5 separate regions of the Homo sapiens genome follow, and all the other regions are linked to region 3. Evidence: promoter capture Hi-C in human tissues and cell types (Jung and others, 2019). All regions are on one chromosome and are shown on one strand. Each heading gives the region's core, a stretch centred on a gene start or on the middle of the fragment in contact. The rest is flanking DNA. Distances are from core to core; before and after follow the strand shown. Region 1 has its middle 12 kb from the start of TNRC6B-DT. Region 2 holds the start of DESI1 (desumoylating isopeptidase 1). Region 3 holds the start of RBX1 (ring-box 1). Region 4 holds the start of PMM1 (phosphomannomutase 1). Region 5 overlaps MRTFA (myocardin related transcription factor A).

Region 1 (3,543 bases), core at 745-3,244, 900 kb after region 3:
TATTAACTTAAAATCTGTTGTCCATGGTACATCTAACAGGAAAGTCTTTATTTAGAAGGTCTACAGAGATAACATCTGAGTAAAACCTCTCCTCAGGAAAAGGATATTACTGAGCATGAGACACCATCAGCAGGATTTTCACAGGAGAAAGACATTTAGCTCCTCAGAGAGCAGCTGTTTCATCTTTTACTTTGGATTGCCTTCCTCCACATCAGAATCTTGTACCCAGCAAGTACCCAAGACATTTCTCTTGATATGCTGACCAGGGGGTCTCCAGGTTAGAAAGCCTGGTCCACTTCCAGTTTTTGAGGCTCGAGATATGTATATATATTTTTTTAAATAAAGACATGCCAAAACACCATTATGAAAATTCTGGGCCAGGCAGGGTGGCTCACGCCTGTAATCCCAGCACTTTGGGAGGCTGCGGATCACCTGAGGTCAGGAGTTTGAGACCAGCCTGACCAACATGGAGAAATCCTGTCTCTACTAAAAATACAAAATTAGCCGGGCGTGGTGGCACACGCCTGTGATCCCAGCTACTCGGGAGGCTGAGGCAGGAGAATCACTTGAACCCAGGAGGCGGAGGTTGCGACGAGCCGAGATGGTGCCATTGTACTCCAGCCTGGGCAACAAGAGCGAAACTCTGTCTCAAAAAAAAAAAAAAAAAACCTGGCATATTTTCAATGTACACATTTAATAAATCAACACCTTTAGGAAAAAAATTCAATGTAACTGTACTATTCACAAGAGGATTAATAAACATGTTCCCTTGTCATAAACCACAGATAGTGTTACCTGGTAAGAAGTTTAAAGGTATAATCAGTATCATCTTTCAATCCTGTGACTTTATCTCGACTGTTTACACCTACTATGTGCAAACCATTCTAGTGGGTGCCATGACAAAACAAAGTAGCATAAACTCATTTTGAGCTCAAGGTATCCAAGATGAGAACCCATGACGACTTCTTACTCTGTTGAGATACTACAAGGAACTTCCAATGAATATAGTCTACCTGTGCCCATGGGAGGAATCTGGTGGCCTTGCCCCATCAAATCTGCTACCATCTCTATTCAAGCAACTTCCATTTTTCTTTCTCCGCTGGGTGCTTCCTGTATATCTTTTAATAGATTATAGATTTTTCTTTCTTTTTTTTTTTTTTTTTGAGACAGGGTGTCACTCTGTCTCTCAGGCTGGAGTGTAGTGATGCAATCCTAGCTCACCGCAGCCTCCAACTCCTGGGCTCATGCAATCCTCCTGCCTCAGCCTTTTGAGTAGCTAGGACTACAGGCATGTGCCATCATGCTCAGTTGATGTTTAAAACATTTTTTGTAGAGATGGGGGTCTCACTATGTTGCTCAAGCTGGTCTCGAACTCCTGGCCTCAAGTGATCCTCTTACTCTGGCTTCCCAAAGTGCTGGGATTACAGGCATGAGCCACTGCACCCAGCCTGATTTTCTATCTTACTTAAAGGTGTTGCCTTCTCAACCTCGTCCTGCTTCCATTTTTCTCTGTCCTTTCTCTTCCAAACATCTTAAACTAAACTGCATTCATTACTACCATTCTCCCTATCATCACTTAGCTCCTTAGCCCTTTGTTATGTAGATCAAATACATACACAGAACTTGCAGAAATCGGCATTACCGTAAGTCAATTAACATCTTGTGAGTGTAATCAGCACTACCAGAGCATAATCACTTCTTCCCATTTGAAAAATATCAAGCTCTGAATATGCAAAGCTGAGAAACATTAGTTTAGCCAACAAGGTATGGACATCCTGCAACTGAAAGCAACTTAGCGGAAATAGAATGGAAGATGGCTAGAGATGGGGTGGATGGGGAAAGGAGACACTACTTAAGAGTAACAGGGAGAGAAAAATGGATAGGAGGAGACAGAAAAGGAAAGAGACATTGAAAACAAATAGGAGTAAATGAAGGAAAATGGGCTACATTTTTATCCAATTAATCTCCCTTTTTCAAATCTGGTTGAGAATTAAATTAGATTAATGTTAGCTCAGTGAACCACTTGGAGACTTGGAGATATGTAAAGACCTTCAAGCTGTAGGAACTGTCTTTCCCAGAACATATACCAGAGGCCCTTCTGGGTAGTCCTCTTTTCTGATTTCCTCTCTTTCACTGGTTCAGTGTCTGATCCATTTGAGATGGTATCAGCACTCACCTCAGGTGATCTAGAAGTCACTTCCTTTACACTCTCTGCTCCTACAGATAAGCTTAAATGAGTCACCACTTTCTAATTCCACCTAACATCATTTGCATGGTTATAGGTACACCACTGAAGCAAGTATATTAACTAGAAGTGACAAGTGCCGTTGTGGTTTATGATTATCTTCTCTGAATGGTACTCTATGCCTTTATGAATTCAAACATACAGATTCAGATCATTATTCTAAGGTCATTTCCTGTCCTAAACTGCAGTGGAGTAAGAGGCTGAGTCTGACATATCATGGTTCAACTGTAAGTCAGCTATTAGCCCTGTACCCTAATGCCAGCCTTGTAAAGCATACCGCTGTGCCGGTCATCTTCTCCACATACTAAAAACGCTCCCCCATGCCTCTACACAGGCTGTTCTCTCTGCCGGAAATGCCCTTTTCCTCCACAACTTAGTGTGAGTGTCACCTTCCCTGGGAAGGCTTTCTCAACCTCCCCATCGTGTTGATGACCTTCCTTTTCATCCCCGCAGCACCTCTTGTACTGTCTATTACAGCACTTATTACACTAAATGGCACTCATCTGTGTCCACATCTGTCTCACCCACCTGGCTGTGCATTCCTTGGGAACAAAGATCTCCTTTCGCCCCACCTCTGTAGTCCTGGCTCCTAGCACAGCATTCAGCATGTCTATGCATTCAAATGTTTAGTGAGAGCGTCATCATGTCAAGCCCAAGCATAATTTCTTTTCTTTTTTTGGAGACGGAGTCTTGTTCTGTCACCCAGGCTGGAGCTTAATGGTGCAATCTCAGCTCACTGCAACCTCTGCCTCCCGGGCTCAAGCAACCTTCCTGTATCAGCCTCCCGAGTAGCTGGGACTACTGGCGCGCACTACTACAACCAGCTAATTTTTTTTTTTTTTGTAGAGATGGGTTTCACCATGTCACCCAGGCTGGTCTCGAACTCCTGGACTCAAGTGACCTGCCTGCCTTGGCCTCCCAAAGTGCTGGCATTACATGCATGAGCCACCAAGCTTTGCCTAAAATGAGGTTTTTTAGAAATTCTATTTTAAATTCTCTTTCTTAACTTCATTTGAAAAAATATTTATTGAGGACCTACTATGTGCAACTCACAGTGCTAGATGTTGGTGACACAAATGTGAATAAAACAGAGTATTTTTATTCATGTAGCTATTTTCCAGAAGGGGAAATATAATATACAAATTAAATAATTATACAATTGATATCTTCTAATGTGGGGCGGGGTGATTAGGAAGTCATTAAAGAGGAGACACACACACTGAGCTCAGGATTGAAGAGGCATTAACTAAGGTTGGGCCTGCGGGCTTCCAGCTGTGAGAATAGTATGCTCAAGGAAG
Region 2 (3,787 bases), core at 891-3,390, 670 kb before region 3:
CTTGAGCCCGGGAGTTTGAGGTTACAGTGAGCTACGATGATCTCACCACTGCACTCCAGCCTGTCTCTATTAAAAAATTAAAAAATATATATATTTCATTAGGAAATAAATATTGAAAGATACTTGAAAGAAAAATACAAAAATGTCAAAATGCTGGTAGTGGTTGTGTTAGAGTGGTAGATTATAGCAAATTTTTTTCTTTTTTGTATTTCCTATGTTTCTCACTTTTTTTTTTTTCCTGAGAGAGTCTCATTCTGTCACCCAGGCTGGAATGCAGTGGCGCCATCTCGGCTCACTGCAAGCTCCACCTCCCAGGTTCGCACCATTCTCCTGCCTCAGCCTCCCGAGCAGCTGGGACTACAGGCGACCGCCACCACGCCCGGCTAATTTTTTGTATTTTTTTTTTAGTACAGACGGGGTTTCACCGTGTTAACCAGGATGGTCTTGATCTCCTGACATCGTGATCCGCCCGCCTCGGCCTCCCAAAGTGCTGGGATTACAGGCTTGAGACACCGCGCCTGGCCGTTTCTCATTTTTAATAAAAATATTCAAAATTTTTCTGCTCAGGAGTTAAATTAACCAGTATGAAGATTACATGTACCCCTATTTCTCTTCCTTTGTTTTATGTGTTACTGTGTTGCCTGCACATACACTCCCAAACGTGGAGGCTATAGTGAGGGAATCAATCACTTTCCTGTAACTGTGTTGCTTGCGTTTATTCTTTGGTTGGTGTAGTTATTGCAGGGTGGGGGCATTTTTACACTGAGGTCCTGGAATGGTAACACTACTTTCCTGGATGAGAAGGGTCTCACCTGAACCACTTAAGATGACAAAAAATACCTATGGTCATGGCCATTTATCAGGGACCAAAAGATGTCAAACTACCAGTGTCCAAAAAAAACTTAGGGCACACTAGAGTAAGATCTGCATATAAGAGCCTAGGGTAGCTCTGCGAAGTTCAAAGGAAGAAAAGAATTTCAGAATTATCTGGGAGGAGAAGGGCAGGCCATCAAACAGCAAAGTCCATCCAGCAGAGATAGGCAGGGAAGGTCTTTCTTCCACACACCGAATGGCACTACATGCTGAAGTCACTTACCACTTGCTTCAAGGTTCTCTTCTTGTTCTTCCTCTGCTTCTTCATCGCCCTCGGTTTTGTAATATGACTCCCACCCTGACATGTTGGCTACTGCTCACTAGGCGAAAGACGTTAACGTCAGTAACAGGCAAATTTAAATCGAAAAAATACCGACCTCTAGGTTCTTGTGAGATCTGTTCTAAAAGCTTGGTTAGTAGTGAGGAATGTGGACGGTAAATCCTGCTGCCTCGAAAGCTCGGCAGTCGGACTGCATGTAAATGCGCATGGGGGCCATCCCAGTAGCTGCCTCATCTCAGCTATCCCTCACGTTTCAGGGCCGGCGGCGGCCCGCGGAAGCCAGATCCCGGAGGTCCCGCCCCCGACGCCATTTAGACGGTGAGGGATTCCCGCTCCAGGATTCTATGCTGACTAACGGACCCCCTCGTCCTCAATACCGCCCAAAAACCTCCCCAAATTCCTCAATCACGCCCAATGAGATCTCAAACGCAGACAGGCCTCAAGCGCAGGCGGGCCGCAAGCGCAGGCGGGCCTCAAACGCAGGCGGGCCTCAAACGCGAGGTGCCGCCTCCTTCCCGAGGAAGGAGCGTGGTCTCGAGTCTGTCGCTGCTCCTCGGATTCGCACACTTAAGGCTAACGCTAACCCTCTAGCAAGGCTATGGGGGCGCGCGAGACCGACCGAGCGAAGCGGGACGAGGCCAGGCCTAGCTGGCGAACAACACAAATGGATAACGGCCCGCTTACCTTTGGCGCAGGGAAGCGACCAACTTGGACAGAAGACGACAATCCACGCATGCGCGGGCCCTGTACTCGGTCCCAATCAACGCCCTCTACGTCATCACGCATGTGCGCACTATATCGCGTCAGGCTGGCACGCACACTCCCCAACCAGCTTCTACCTATGTCCCTGACGAAAGCCAACCCATCAGCGAGAGCCCCGCCCCCTTCGGCAAAGCCCCGCCCCTTCCTACGTCAGGACTGTAAGCACATGCGCAAAAGTGCATCCCTGCCCCCGCCCCCTCTTCCGTGTGGGCCCTCCCTGTCCCCTCTCTGTCACCTCACAGTAGTCGTTGCCGGTAGCGGGTGTGGGGGCGCGAGCAGCGCAGGGCGGCCTCTCCCCCACCCCTCAGCCCGGGCCCGGGCTCGGTCCCCCCCTCTCCCTCCGCTTCGCACTCCCGTCGGGTACGGGAAGGTCCAAGCCGCTGCCGGGTGCCCGAGGGCCGTCGTGGCCGCCGTCGCCACGGGTCCCAATGGAGCCGCCGAATCTCTATCCGGTGAAGCTCTACGTGTACGACCTGTCCAAAGGCCTGGCCCGGCGGCTCAGCCCCATCATGCTGGGTGAGGGGGAAGGGGCCAGGTGGGCAGGAGGGCGGGAGCCAGGCCAGAGGGTGGCGGCTGGCCGAGGTGGGGAGACTTGGGCCACGACTCACGGGGAGACACATGGCCAGGAGGATGGAAGAAAAGCCGAGTGGAGAAGAGAGTGGTCTGAAGTTTGGGCCATCTGAGCCCCGCTTTAGCCTCGCAGATACCATCCTCACGTTTGAATTCAAGGGGAAGGGATGGAGGAGTCATGCCTCCACCTTGCAGGGGGCTTGGGCAGAAACCGAGCCCTCGAGAGCCCCTTCGACGAGGGTGTGGGGTAAACCAGCGCTGGATCCCGGCGGGTTCTCTGCCTCGCTCGGGTAGCCCAGTGCACTCCTGCCTCCTTGGCGCGGTGTAGGAAAGGTGAGGATGCCTGCCGCGCGGTGCCCCTCGTGGTGACAGAGACACTGCGGAGGTCGGGTGGCTCTCGGAGAACCTTGTCTCAGTGCCAAAAGGAAGCTCCCTTTGCAGTCCCAGGGATAGGTGGGATGGGGGAGATAGAGCTGCCTAGGGACCCAGCCATCGCCCCCAGGTAGGTCAAGTCAGGATAAGAGGAGCCCCGAACTCCAGAATTCACCAAGCAGTCTTCTCCCCACAGTTTCTAAGTTAATTGCTTTTGCTCAAATGGCAAGAAAGCAGTTTTGGGGGAAGTTTGGATGAGGCTGTGTGAATAAGGATTAGTAAAGAAAGTATTTCGGTTGTGCTCCATTAAACTACTTAACTGGCAGGAGAAAAACCAGCCCTCATTCAGTGACGATCACACCTTATTTCAACTTAAATACAGGAATGTCTTGTGTAACACAGGAATTGTCAGGTTTGTAATTTCGGGTAACAATGAGCAGGAAAGAATTCCAATTATTGAAAATTGAAGCTTTGACAGCATCCATTTGAATGGCTAGTTTTTCCTGGCTTCTGTGGAGACACTGGCGAATGATTTAGTTCATCTCTGTGAGACGAGGGGGCAGAGATCAAGTAAGGGAGGCTACTTTTGAGGGCATCCTTCAATGTCCTTGAGTTTCTAATATGTCGTAGTGAATTGAACTTAATCTCACAACCGTGGGTCCATGAGTTGTTTCTATATTTGGCTTCACATCAAAATCATCTAGGGTGCTTGTTAAAAATGCAGATACCCTCATTTCCAACATATATTGTAAATGAGATTAGAAAAAACAAGGTTAGAATAGCTCTTTAAATATGCAAATCAAAGGATATATATGTGCTTGCTTAGGCAAATAATTATCCGTAAGGATACACAAGAAATTGATAACAGCAGTAGCTTATGGAAAGGGGAACTTGATGCCAGGGGAACAGGGGTAGAAGAGAAACTTTGCT
Region 3 (3,927 bases), core at 573-3,072:
GGCCAACATGGCAAAATCCTATCTTTACTAAAAATACAAAAATTAGCCAGGCCTGGTGGCGGGTGTCTATAATACCAGCTGTTTGGGAAGCTGAGGCAGGAGAATCGCTTGAATCTGGGGGACGGAGGTTGCAGTGAGCCAAGATCGTGCCACTGCACTCCAGCCTGGGCGACAGAGTGAGACTCCATCTCAAAAAAAAAAAAAAAAAAAAAAAAAGGGCACAAACTTGAATTTCTGTGCAGGTTTTGGTGGCAGTTGCAGAAGAGCTCAAAATCTGAATAAGTATCTGCTCTACACAGCTCTGGAAGCATGAGCAATGAAGTGAAAGCTAGAGAACAGAATGAACTAAGATAATGACTGGATCATAAAATGGGTAATCATGGGATAAGCTGGATAATTAAATACCCGTGTCAGTACACAGAACAAGGTCATCACTTAAATCTTAGATTACTTCATAACAAATTCTACAATTCACTAGAATTTTGATTCTTACCATAAAATAAACTGATGTTCTCAACTTTTATATGTTTAGACTCTTCTATTAAGATAATAATTCCAGTAAGAGTTTAACAGAATTTCATTCATTCAACTCTGGCTTCCTCAATTACAAATACTCCCAAACCTTCTTCGCTTTCAAACCCCATTCTCAGTGCCTAGTAACTTCTTTACCACTTTTCACATCACAGCTTCAAGGTGGAGGAAAAGCCCCTACTTCTATTATTTTTCAATATGGCTGCTGGCTGTAACTGAGCAGCAGTGGCCACAATGAGACACCAAAAAGCACTAGGACGGGGGATATTGTCAGTGTTTAGCCAGATGTTCTAGGAATATCTTCCCTATTTTAGAATCTCCATTTTGAACAGCTTTCATGTTAGGTGAGAATCGATACTGTTCTCCCAAACTGTGGCAAACCACTAAAAGGCATTTCATGCAAAAAGACACGTTCCATTTTTGCTTTCCCACGCTTACCAAGTCGTTCGCGACTAGTACTCAACCCTCCCTAACTGCCACAGGATTTGGGCTCGGATTTTCTTAACAAGTTCCACCATGCTTTTTATTATTATTTTGGAAGGGGGAGATTCTGGACGTGACAGAGAACCCAAGAGTGGGGTGGTTGTGTGAAAAGCCAACAGACGTCTCAGAAGAGCCAAGCATTACACTCCAGACTCTAACCAGGCAGTGTGAGGCCTCGGTTCAGCGAGGATCCCTCCAAGTGAGAGGACCCCTCCAAGTGAGAGGACCCCAAGCTTCAAAAAGGGGCGGAGCAAGATCACCAAGGGGGGTCCTCAGAGGCCTCTAATGCGGTAGGACCTCAGGTTCCAGGCTCTCGCCGCACTGCCCCATCCTCCACCGCCGCATTCGCTTCGACTCCCCATTCCACCCACCCCACCCCACCCTACCCTGTCCTTCCCCCACCTCTCAACCACTCCAGTGACAGCTCAAGCGCTTGGCTCCCGCCGCCAAGTCGCAACCCCGCGTATCTCAATAAGCAGCTCTGTGATTGGCCCCTTAGCCTCACAGCGAAACCAACACTTCCCCCAACAGTGGGCCGCCGTCACGCCGATCAACTCTAAGACCCGCCCCCCGGCTTCCTTTCGTGGTACCCGGTCCCAGGAACGCCCTGAAATGAAACCCTTTACTCCGCGCCTCGACCATCCTCGGGCCTGCCAGCCAGATCCGCGCCTCTCTAGCTTCCCTGAGGAAGGCGCTGGCGAGACCCAACCTTTTTCACTTCAAAGCGCTTCTTGCCCGCGCCGCTGTTGGTGCCGCTCGGGGTATCCACATCCATCGCTGCCGCCATTTTGGAAACACACGGTCTGTCGTCCGACCACCGCGCCTGCGCAGCAGCGCACACTTCGCTCCCCCCACCTCCCCGGCACCTCCTCCCGCACCCCACCCCTTACTGGCGCGCGAGGCGGAGGTGGGGGCGGAGCACGTGACCACGCCTCTTAAAGGGGCTGTCGCAGGTCGCCCCACCCGCGAACTGTAGGCCGGGGAGGGGGCGGTGGCCGGAGTGGGTGGGGCGGGGCCGGGCGGGGCCGGGCGGGGCCGAGGCTACGTGAGCTAGCCGGGTGGAAACGTTCGAAAGGGCTCGACGTCGCCGCCTCCTCTGGGAAGCCCCCGGCCGCACTCCGTCAGCTGGGGCGGCGGCTGCTTCCTCCGCCTGAGCCAGACCTGCGCCGCAGTCCTGTCCTGCCTGCCGGGCTCGCCGAGTCGCCGCGCGGCTCCCGGTGCTGGCGTGGGTGGGCGCCCGCGGCCTGCCCCGAAACCCAAGAGTCCTCGCTGGTCTTTCGCAGACTCTGACCCGCTTCCGAGCCAGGCCCAAGGTGCAGTCCCCGTGGGAGGGCTGGGGCCCAGGCACCGTCTGGTCTCCGATTTCTGTTCGGGAACTGCTCAGGGATTCGATGGGGAGAGAGGAGACCCCCGAAGTTCCTCCCTAAGGCCACACTGAGCAGGCCCCCAGCCCTGCCTTTACTCGCCCGCCAAGCCTGGGGGGTGGCCTCTGCGCCCACATAGTCGCAGTCCTAGGACCGCCTTTGGTCGTGGTGCACGGTTTCACCGTAACGTGTGTCAGTCCCCACTCCGCATTCCTCAGTTGTCATCTTTGTAGGGTGATTTCTCCCCGATCTGTGTCCTTTTTCCGCTGCTTGTGCTGTAGTGAAACCGACCCATCTGCAGTCGCTGTATTTCTTGAATTTTTGTGAGGCATTCTTTTTTAACTCTTGTTGCCCAGGCTGGAGTGTAATGGCGCGATTTCGGCCCACTGCAACCTCCGCCTCCAGGATTCAAGCGATTCTCCTGCCTCAGCCTCCCGAGTAGCTGAGATTACAGGCGCCCGCCACCACGCCCGGCTAATTTTTTGTATTTTTAGTAGAAACGGGGTTTCACCACGTTAGCCAGGCTGGTCCCGAACTCCTGACCTCAGGTGATCCGCCTGCCTCGGCCTCCCAAAGTGCTAGAGCCGCTTTTTTTTTTTTTCTTTTTTAATTTTTTTAAAAAATAGAGACAAGGTCTCACTATGTTGCCTAGGCTGGTCTCGAACTCCTGGGCCCAAGTGATCCTCCCACTTCGGCCTCCCAAAGTGCTGGGATCACAGGAGTGAGCCATCCCACCCGACCCAAGCACCTGTACTTTGTCACTCTCCCATTTCTGGCTAGACCAGGACTCCCTTTGACATCTCTAACCTTGCAGAGGTGTGACTCTGCCAGAGCACTCTTAGATGTCGTACAGGTGCATTTGAAGCCTTGTATTTTCTCTTAAAAGATAACTGGCGGGTAATGGAGCGTGCTGACTCTATTGCTAAAGAGAAAGAATAGGCTGGGCGCGGTGGCTCACGCCTGGGAGCCACTTTGGGAGGCCGAGGCAGGTGGATTACCTGAGGTCAGGAGTTTGAGACCAGCCTGGCCAACATGACGAAACCCCGTCCCTACTAAAAATACAAAAATTAGCTGGGTGTGGTGGCACGCGCCTGTAGTCCCAGCTACTCAGGAGGCTGAGGCAGGAGAATCTCTTGAACCCGGGAGGTGGAGGTGGCAGTGAGCCGAGATCGAGCCACTCTACTCCAGCCTGGGTGACAGAGCGAGACTCCGTTCCCCCCCAAAAAAAATAATAAAAGAGAAAGAACTGAGATTTGTTTGTTAGTTATAAACAGCAACAACAGATCCGGGAAAAGACCACCACAGCTTTATCCAGACTTGGAAAGAAAAATTGTGTGAGACCTTAAAGGGCTACAAGAACCCTACAAAGTTTTTCTTAGCCCAAGTTTTAATGACTTTGTTAAAATTTCTGTTGTTAATTTGTTGTGTGCCTACAGGCCCTGACAGGAATACTAGAAACCCATTGTAAATTAAGGTCTTGAAGACATATTTATCAATCATTCAATAAAAGTATTGATATTTACCAGGTTCTGTTTTAAACAGAAGAGAC
Region 4 (3,866 bases), core at 1,287-3,786, 640 kb before region 3:
TCGATCTCTTGACCTTGTGGTCTGCCTGCCTTGGCCTCCCAAAGTGCTGGGATTACAGGCGTGAGCTACCGCGCTCAGCCTCTTTTCCTATTTTCTAAAAGTTGAATTGCTGACTCATATGATCTGCATCTTTTTTTTTTTTTTTCTTGAGACAGGGTCTCACTACTGTTACCCAGGCTGGAGTGCAGTGGGAAGATCTGGTTCGTTGCAGCCTCAGCTTCCTGGTGATTCTCCTACTTTAGCCTCCTGAGGGACCACAGGTGCCTGCCACCATGCCTGGCTAATGTTTTGTATTTTTAGTAGAGACAGCATTTTGCCATGTTGCCCAGGCTGATCTTGACCTCCTGGGTTCAAACAATCCACCCACCTTGGCCTCCCAAAGTGCTGGAATTACAGGTGTGAGCCACCGCATCCAGCTCTACAGTTATTTTTTATTTATTTAGTTAGTTAGTTAGTTAGTTAGTTTGTTTGTTTGAGGTGTAGTCTCCCTCTGTCTCCCAGGCTGGAGCGCAGTGGCATCATCTCGGCTCACTGCAACCACCGCCTTCCAGGTTCAAGTGATTCTTCCGCCTCAGCCTCCCAAGTAGCTGGGATTACAGGCTCCTGCCACCATGCCCGGCTAATTTTTGTATTTTTAGTAGAGACGGACTTTCCCCATGTTGGCCAGGCTGGTCTCAAACTCATGACCTCAGGTGATCTGCCCATCCCGGCCTCCCAAAGTGTTGGGATTACAGGCGTGAGCCACCGCGCCCAGCCTGTTACTTATTTTCATGTGAAAAGCAAACCTACAAAGCAGGTGGTGTTCATCCCATTTTATAGGTGAAGACACAAAGCCTCTGAGAGGTGAAGTGACTTGTCCAAGGTCCCATAGTGGTGGAGCTGGGAAGGCAACCTGGAAGTGACTCCAAAGTCAACGCAATGGTTAAATAATTGTGAATCGAATCTGGGAAGGTTGGCTGGGAACGGTGGCTCATGCCTGTATTCCCAGCACTTTGGGAGGCTGAGGCAGGCAGATCACCTGAGGCCAGGAGTTCGAGACCAGCCTGGCTAACATGGTGAAAATACAAAATTACTACTAAAAATAAAAAATTAGCCGAGCGTGGTAGTGGGTACAAAATAATCCCAGCTACTCGGGAGGCAGAGGTTGTGGTGAGCTGAAATCGTGCCATTGCACTCCAGCCTGGGCAACAAGAGCAAAACTCCGTCTCAGAAAAAAAAAAAAAATTAGCCGGGCGTGGTGGCGCACTTCTGTAGTTTCAGCTACTCAGGAGGCTGAGGCAGGAGAATCACTTGAACCTGGGAGGCGGAGGTTGCAGTGAGCCGAGATCATGCCACTGCACTCCAACCTGAGTAACAGAGTGAGACCCAGTCTCAAAAAATAAATAAATAAATAAATAAATCGCCCTGTGTCAAAAATAAAATAAAATAAACATAAAAGTAAGTAAAAATACAAAAATTAGGTGGGCATGGTGGCACACGCCTGCAGTCCCAGCTACTCGGGAGGCTGAGGCATGAGAACCGCTTGAACCTGGGAGGTGGAGGTTGCAGTGGGCAGAGATCCCGCCACTGCACTCCAGCCTGGGCAGAGCGAGACTCTGTCTCAAAAAAAAAAAAAAAAAAGAAGAATCTGGGAAGGTCTCCAAGCAGGTAGACCCTGAGAGCTGGGTCTTATGTGTGGACAGAAGGAATAAGGCTCGGGGAAGGCAATTTGGCAAAGTCCAAAGCCTGAACAAAGGCCTTCAGGAGATTTCTTTTCTTTTCTTTTCTTTCCTTTTTTTTTTTTTTTTTTTTTTTTGAGGCTGGAGTGCAATGGCGCGATCTCGGCTCACCGCAACCTCTGGCTTCTTTGGAATCAAGCGATTCTCCTGCCTCAGCCTCCTGAGTAGCTGAGATTACAGGCATGCGCCACCACGCCTGGCTAATTTTGTATTTTTAGTAGAGACGAGGTTTCTCCATGTTGGTCAGGCTGGTCTCGAACTCCCGACCTCCGGTGATCCGCCCGCCTCGACGTCCCAAACTGCTGGGATTACAGGCGTGAACCACCGCGCCCGGCTCAGGAGATTTCCTACAGCTCAAAATTTGTAAGGCAAAGAGATGGCCACAAACCTTGTGAGAGTGGATGGGGAGCGACCTCGGCTCTCTTAGTCCCGCCTGGCCCACTAGACACTGCACTGCATGGTAGAGGCCCCGCCCGACCCAGCCCCTTAATCGGCCTGTTGCAATCACTATCAACCCGCCAATTCTGGCCCCGCCCCTGTCTTCCGGGTTCACCCTCTCACTTCCTGCGGGTCCCAGGCTCAGGCCCCTCCTCCGCCTTGTTTGGAGCAATCCAATCGAACCTGGAGGGCTCCGCTCCGCCCTATGCCGCGCTCCCCTCCTCCACGAGCAATGAGAATCAGCTCAGGCCCCGCCCCCGCTTCCGCCCGCCTAGACCACGCCCCTTCTTCATTTGGCCAATCAGGCAGTCCACTGGCCCCCGCCCCCTAATGCCCCGCCCCGTCAGCACTTATCCCTGAGCTGCTTCTGCCGTTGCATCTTCGGGACTCCGCCCCGCGCGCGGACCTGCAGCCATGGCAGTCACCGCCCAGGCAGCCCGCAGGAAGGAGCGCGTCCTCTGCCTGTTTGACGTGGACGGGACCCTCACGCCGGCTCGCCAGGTAGGACCCTGAAGATTGGAAGCTCCCACCGGGAGTGTCACGCGGACACCCCCGAGGCTGAGTGTGGGGTCTGCAGCAGCGTGACCGTGGACACCCGGGGACCGAGTGTGGGATGCGGCGGTACCCGGCCCCCTGACATCCGGGGCCACCCACCGGGAGTGAGGGGACCTGGCCCTCACGTCACTGACCCCGCAGCGTCCTTGCCTGTGTTCTGCTTGGGAGTGCTGGGGTTGGATCCAGTACTGGAGGGAGGAGGCTGCGAGCAGGGGCCTAGCTCCCTCCCTCCCCGGAGGCTGTCACACGCCGCTAAGGCCTGGCTCACGGACGCCCCCGCCTCCTGAGCTGGGGATCCCACCCTAGTTCAGCCCTACGACACACCAGTGGTCGGAGCTGGCTTCTGAACCGGGGTTCCAGGCACACAAGCACACAGCCAAGCGTCAGTCATCATCTGGTGGGAGACAGGGCGTCTCGGAGTCTTCCCACCCCGACCTTTGCAGGCCTGGGACTGGGTCTAGTTTCTGAAGCCCCATCACCCACTTTACCTTCCACCCCCAGTCGTGGAGCAGAGAGGGCTTCTTTTCAAATTCGTTTATGAGCTCTACCCACCCGGATGTGAGAGGCTCCAGGCCTAGCCTGTTTGCTGTGAGGACACTGAGGAATAGTGAGGGTAAGAGTCTAGTTTTCTTCTAAAGACTCTCGCTGTGTTGAGCCTCTTACCTCTGCTCAGTTTTTCTCCCATTGGGTCTCATTGTGAGTGAGTCCCCAAAAGCCCCCTCACCAGCTGGATGCATCAGTAAGCAGGCTTCATTCATGCCCTCCCTGTGGGTAACCCACCCTCCAGTCTGGGGGCCTCAAGGACCAACCAACAGGTCTCCTAGCGTGGGGGAGCAGTGGGATGGGCTTTACTGGGCAGTGGCTGATGGGAACCCAGGTCTTAGCCTCCTCTCTTAGGTCCCGAATGCCCCTCCCCATCCTCTGTGGTGAAGTTGCCCTGGCTTGGGCCCTGGAGGCCTTCCTGCAGGGGTGGATCCGGGAGGAAGATAGCAGGACTGGAGCAAAGGTGGGCCATTTGCTTGTGGGTCACGCCTGTAATCCCAGCACTTTGGGAGGCCATGGTGGGCAGATCACCTGAGGTCAGGAATTCTAGATCAGTCTGGCTAACATGGTGAAACCCCGTCTCTACTAAAAATACAAAAATTAGGCTGGGTT
Region 5 (3,743 bases), core at 876-3,375, 520 kb after region 3:
TGGCCAGGCTCGTCTCGAACTCCTTACCTCATGATCTGCCCACCTCGGCTTCCCAAAGTGCTGGGATTGCAGGCGTGAGCCACCATGCCCAGCCAGATACGTAGTATTTATATAAAGACTGTCAAGACAGTGATGAGTGCTGCGGAGAAAAATGAGGCAGAAAAGGAAGCTGGGGTGGGGTGGACAGTGTCCGTTTTCTCTTGATTCTTTGTACTTACTGTCTCATGCATGTGCTAAGCTTTCCAAGAGCCAAGGTTACGTGTGATGCATCACACCCGGGTTCCTGCAGAGCAGGACGTTTGGAGTTGAGCTAGCGTTACACAGTAGAAGCAGGTGCAGGGGGTGTCTATTTACCCACTGAAATGCCCACGACCTGCCCATGTAAGAAGTGGGGAATCCTGGATAGTGCCCAGGTAGGTTGGGGAGGTAACTTGTACTGGTTTTTCTTTGATGTTATTTGTTAAATCTAGAGCTCCCCCTTCTGTTAGAAGATGGGATCTCAGTAGTACTTTTAAGACTGTAGTTTCTTTTTTATCTTAAGATTCACAAAAAATTTTTAAAAATAAATACCACTGGGACAATTGAAGCTTTCTTCTGGGACTGCTGTTGCTGAGGCCCAGCCCCCCGCTGGGGGTGGAGAGGAAGGAGGAAGAAGCACAACGGCCCAGGCAGGATAGGGTCCTATCTATGCTCTCTTGCTACTTTTAGCAGCTCCTTAACCCTGCACTCCTACCGCAGCCAGCAGCCTAGCAAAAGTTATCTCTGCTCGCAGTTTCACAGCTCTTTGGAAATTCTAGGGCAGGAGAAGTGAAACTGACCACAGTCTTATAAATTTCTCTCTTATTGCCTCTGTTCCCTACTTGAAGTGAGTCAGGCCTTTCCCTCTCATCCTCAGAGTGTCTTAAGTTGCTATTTGTCCTTACAGCCAAGTTTTTGACAAAAGGAGTCAGACCTTCCATTCATGGTGCAGCCTTTCTGGAGGCTCTTGGTTTGGTCTTGCCACCTGAGTGTTGTTTGCAGAAGTCGAGACTTGTGGTCTTTGTGTGGTATCCCCAGAATAGAGCTGAGCCCTTCGTCTCAGCTGTCGGTTGTGTGTGTTCCTTCACATACAATTGCCATGGGGTTCTTTTAGTCCTTAGAGATGAAATTCAAGTTAATTTTAGCAGCACTATAAATAACAGGTGCAGTGAAGAAGGAAATAGTGCCGAGTGGACATATATCTTTTTGGTTTTAACTGTCCCATTGAAACAGTTTGGCCACTTTATGATTCCTCGTGAGGTTGAGGAAGTAAGGTTAATTTGGCATGCATCTGTGCCCCTTCCTGTGTGCAGGTGTCCTGAGAATAATGTGAGGCCTAGCAGGCGTTCTTGGAGTCCTAGCTGAAGGGGGATTTGCGGCTGACGGTCCAGTCATGGGCCAGGGTGTTTGTTAAAGTTACATTCCATGGGTGCACTTTATATAGCCCAAGCTTAGGCAGTGACAGTTCCCATTAGGAGTCATATTTTGGTTTCTACCAAAACTGTTTGAATGGGGTAGCTAAACCATAAAGATACATGCTTACTCAGGTGTCATTGCCTTCACTTCAACTGATATTTATAGTACTACTAACAGTAATGTGATTTTTTTTTTTTTTTTTTGGGGGACGGTTTCTCGCTCTGTTGCCCAGGCTAGAGTGCAGTGGCGCAATCTCGGCTTACTGCAAGCTCTGCCTCCCAGGTTCACGCCATTCTCCTGCCTCAGCCTCCCTTGTAGCTGGGACTTCAGGCGCCCACCACCACCACGCCTGGCTAATTTTTTGTATTTTTAGTAGAGACAGGGTTTCACCATGTTAGCCAGGATGGTCTCGATCTCCTGACCTCGTGATCTGCCTGCCTCAGCCTCCCAAAGTGTTGGGATTACAGGCGTGAGCCACCACGCCCAGCCAGTAACATGAATTTAAGATGCCTTCTCCACTGAATATCGTAGCACTAGACATGATGCTTCGCTTGAAGGTAATCTTTACGGTTCTTCTCTCAACAGCTTTGAAAAGTCCAGCCGCATTTCATGAGCAGAGAAGGAGCTTGGAGCGGGCCAGGGTAAGGTACCTTTTTTCCCCCTCAGAACTCCCAAAGAGCATTTTCAGAGCTCATTGCATTGCTGGTTATATTTCCATTTAGAGCTTTCCATAGAACTCTGAGGCCAGAGCCTGCTAGACTCTAGGGCCAGCCCTGGCCTTGTGGTTTTAAATGGAAAGCTCTGCTTCTCCTACTTCATCCCTTCTCTCATTTACCTCCCATGGTGATTATATGGAACATGATTGGAATGAGGTTTCTCTTTTTGTACATTTAAGGATATGGAATGATCACCCGATCCTCCTTGCCTGAATTTTGGAGTGCTTTGGAGACCACTGGTATTTCCCCATCTTTAATTCCACTTAACGTTTTGTAGATGTTGGGACACAAACATTAGCCAATGGAAAAGCTTCCCAAGTCCGGGGTTACACTGGCCACACCTCACAGGACGGGCATTCCAAGGGGCAGGAAACCTTCTTGGTCTCCATCTGCCCAGAGTAGGTGGTATCCACTTGACTCTTGTGGAAAGCAGAAACTGGCCCACACTCCAAGCCCAAGTTTTCTGCCACAGCACCTTACTTGCGTCCCCATCCCAACTCTGTTTCGGTTCCCCAGGGGCCCCTGAGGAATATTCTGCTGCCCAGTGTGGGTAGAGATGGGGAAGTCACCAGAACTTGCTTCCCCCTCACACTCCCTTTACTTTTTCCTTTCACATAAAATCATGGGAAGATAATCCCCCTAGACAGATCATGGGCTGCATCTCCTTAAGACCCACGGCTATTTTATTTTACTTTATTTTTTGAGACGGAGTCTCACTCTGTCACCCAGGCTGGAGTGCAGTGGCGTGATCTCAGTTCACCGCAGCCTCCGCCTACCAGATTCAAGCGATTCTCCTGCCTCAGCCTCCCAAGTAACTGGACCTACAGGCTCCCGCCACCACGCCTGGGTAATTTTTGTATTTTTAGTAGAGATGGGGTTTCACCATGTTGGCCAGCCTGGTCTCAAACTCTTGGCCTCAAGTGATCTGCCTGCCTTGCCCTTCCAAAGTCCTGGGATTACAGGCATGAGCCACCACACCCAGCCTCACAGCTATTTTAGAGTCTCAGAAATATTTACCTCCAAGACTTTTTTTTTTTTTTTTTAAACTTTCTTTCATTCCCCTCTCCCCAGAAAATCATGATTAATTCTTAGAGTAAGTGGAAAGAATGAGGTCATGGGTCCTGGGAACCAAAGGAGTAACAAGCAGCAGTGGTTTAGTTTGCTGAGAGCACTGGAGAGTACAGTGTTGGGGGAAAGGATGGCGTTGCCTGTGCGCCTATTCGGTCAGAAGACTGGGCACCATTTACTTGACTGCTTCTCAAATAGGCAGGGACCAGCAGAGCTGATTAGAAGAGACTGTTTTATTGAGCACCTTTATGTAAGAGGTTGTATCTGTTTCTTTTTTATCCTCACATCAACTCTTATGAATTAGGTGGTATTATCCTCATTTTATAGATGCAGCTAAGAGAAGTTAACTCACTTGTCCAGCCAATAAGTGGCAAAGCTGGGAGTCAAACCTTTGTGGATTCTAGATTTTTTTTGAGCAAAATGATTTTATTTCCTAACACATGGTAACCATAACGTTCAATTTGCTTACCATGCACATCTATTCACAAATGACTTCCACATTACAATAACTACTTCCATATTTAC

What was found. Contacts are between HindIII fragments. The study calls those that stand out against the background at their distance.
Region 1: a fragment that was not itself captured here is called in contact with the fragment with the promoter of RBX1 in region 3 in 1 of the 25 tissues and cell types used here (lymphoblastoid cells).
Region 2: a contact is called between the fragment with the promoter of DESI1 here and the fragment with the promoter of RBX1 in region 3, in 2 of the 25 tissues and cell types used here (dorsolateral prefrontal cortex and spleen).
Region 4: a contact is called between the fragment with the promoter of PMM1 here and the fragment with the promoter of RBX1 in region 3, in 3 of the 25 tissues and cell types used here (adrenal gland, dorsolateral prefrontal cortex and spleen).
Region 5: a contact is called between a fragment that was not itself captured here and the fragment with the promoter of RBX1 in region 3, in 2 of the 25 tissues and cell types used here (dorsolateral prefrontal cortex and spleen).

Annotation. Positions count from the first base shown.
Region 1 is chr22:40,054,418-40,057,960 of GRCh38, reverse strand. It overlaps a transcript of TNRC6B not described here. Among named protein-coding and RNA genes, the nearest start is that of TNRC6B-DT, 12 kb to the right of the region's middle. The HindIII fragment of the contact is 4,520 bases long and covers 1-3,543 here.
Region 2 is chr22:41,619,396-41,623,182 of GRCh38, reverse strand. It overlaps DESI1 (desumoylating isopeptidase 1), which reads left to right and starts at 2,140. Exons shown (of 6, transcript NM_015704.3): 1 at 2,140-2,431. The coding sequence starts at 2,344. It overlaps XRCC6 (X-ray repair cross complementing 6), which reads right to left and starts at 1,888. Exons shown (of 13, transcript NM_001469.5): 1 at 1,838-1,888; 2 at 1,097-1,193. The coding sequence starts at 1,178. RefSeq lists a silencer at 2,120-2,389 and an enhancer at 2,121-2,722. The HindIII fragment of the contact is 13,467 bases long and covers 1-3,787 here.
Region 3 is chr22:40,949,273-40,953,199 of GRCh38, reverse strand. RBX1 (ring-box 1) reads right to left here and starts at 1,822. Exons shown (of 5, transcript NM_014248.4): 1 at 1,724-1,822. The coding sequence starts at 1,801. RefSeq lists enhancers at 502-1,090, 1,546-1,755, 2,270-2,860 and a silencer at 1,806-2,385. The HindIII fragment of the contact is 18,244 bases long and covers 1-3,927 here.
Region 4 is chr22:41,588,510-41,592,375 of GRCh38, reverse strand. PMM1 (phosphomannomutase 1) reads left to right here and starts at 2,536. Exons shown (of 8, transcript NM_002676.3): 1 at 2,536-2,657. The coding sequence starts at 2,571. RefSeq lists a silencer at 2,188-2,337 and an enhancer at 2,732-3,411. The HindIII fragment of the contact is 27,075 bases long and covers 1-3,866 here.
Region 5 is chr22:40,433,831-40,437,573 of GRCh38, reverse strand. MRTFA (myocardin related transcription factor A) reads left to right here. Exons shown (of 15, transcript NM_020831.6): 5 at 2,020-2,075. Among named protein-coding and RNA genes, the nearest start is that of SGSM3, 65 kb to the right of the region's middle. RefSeq lists enhancers at 544-593, 664-713, 834-963, 1,224-1,283. The HindIII fragment of the contact is 3,423 bases long and covers 414-3,743 here.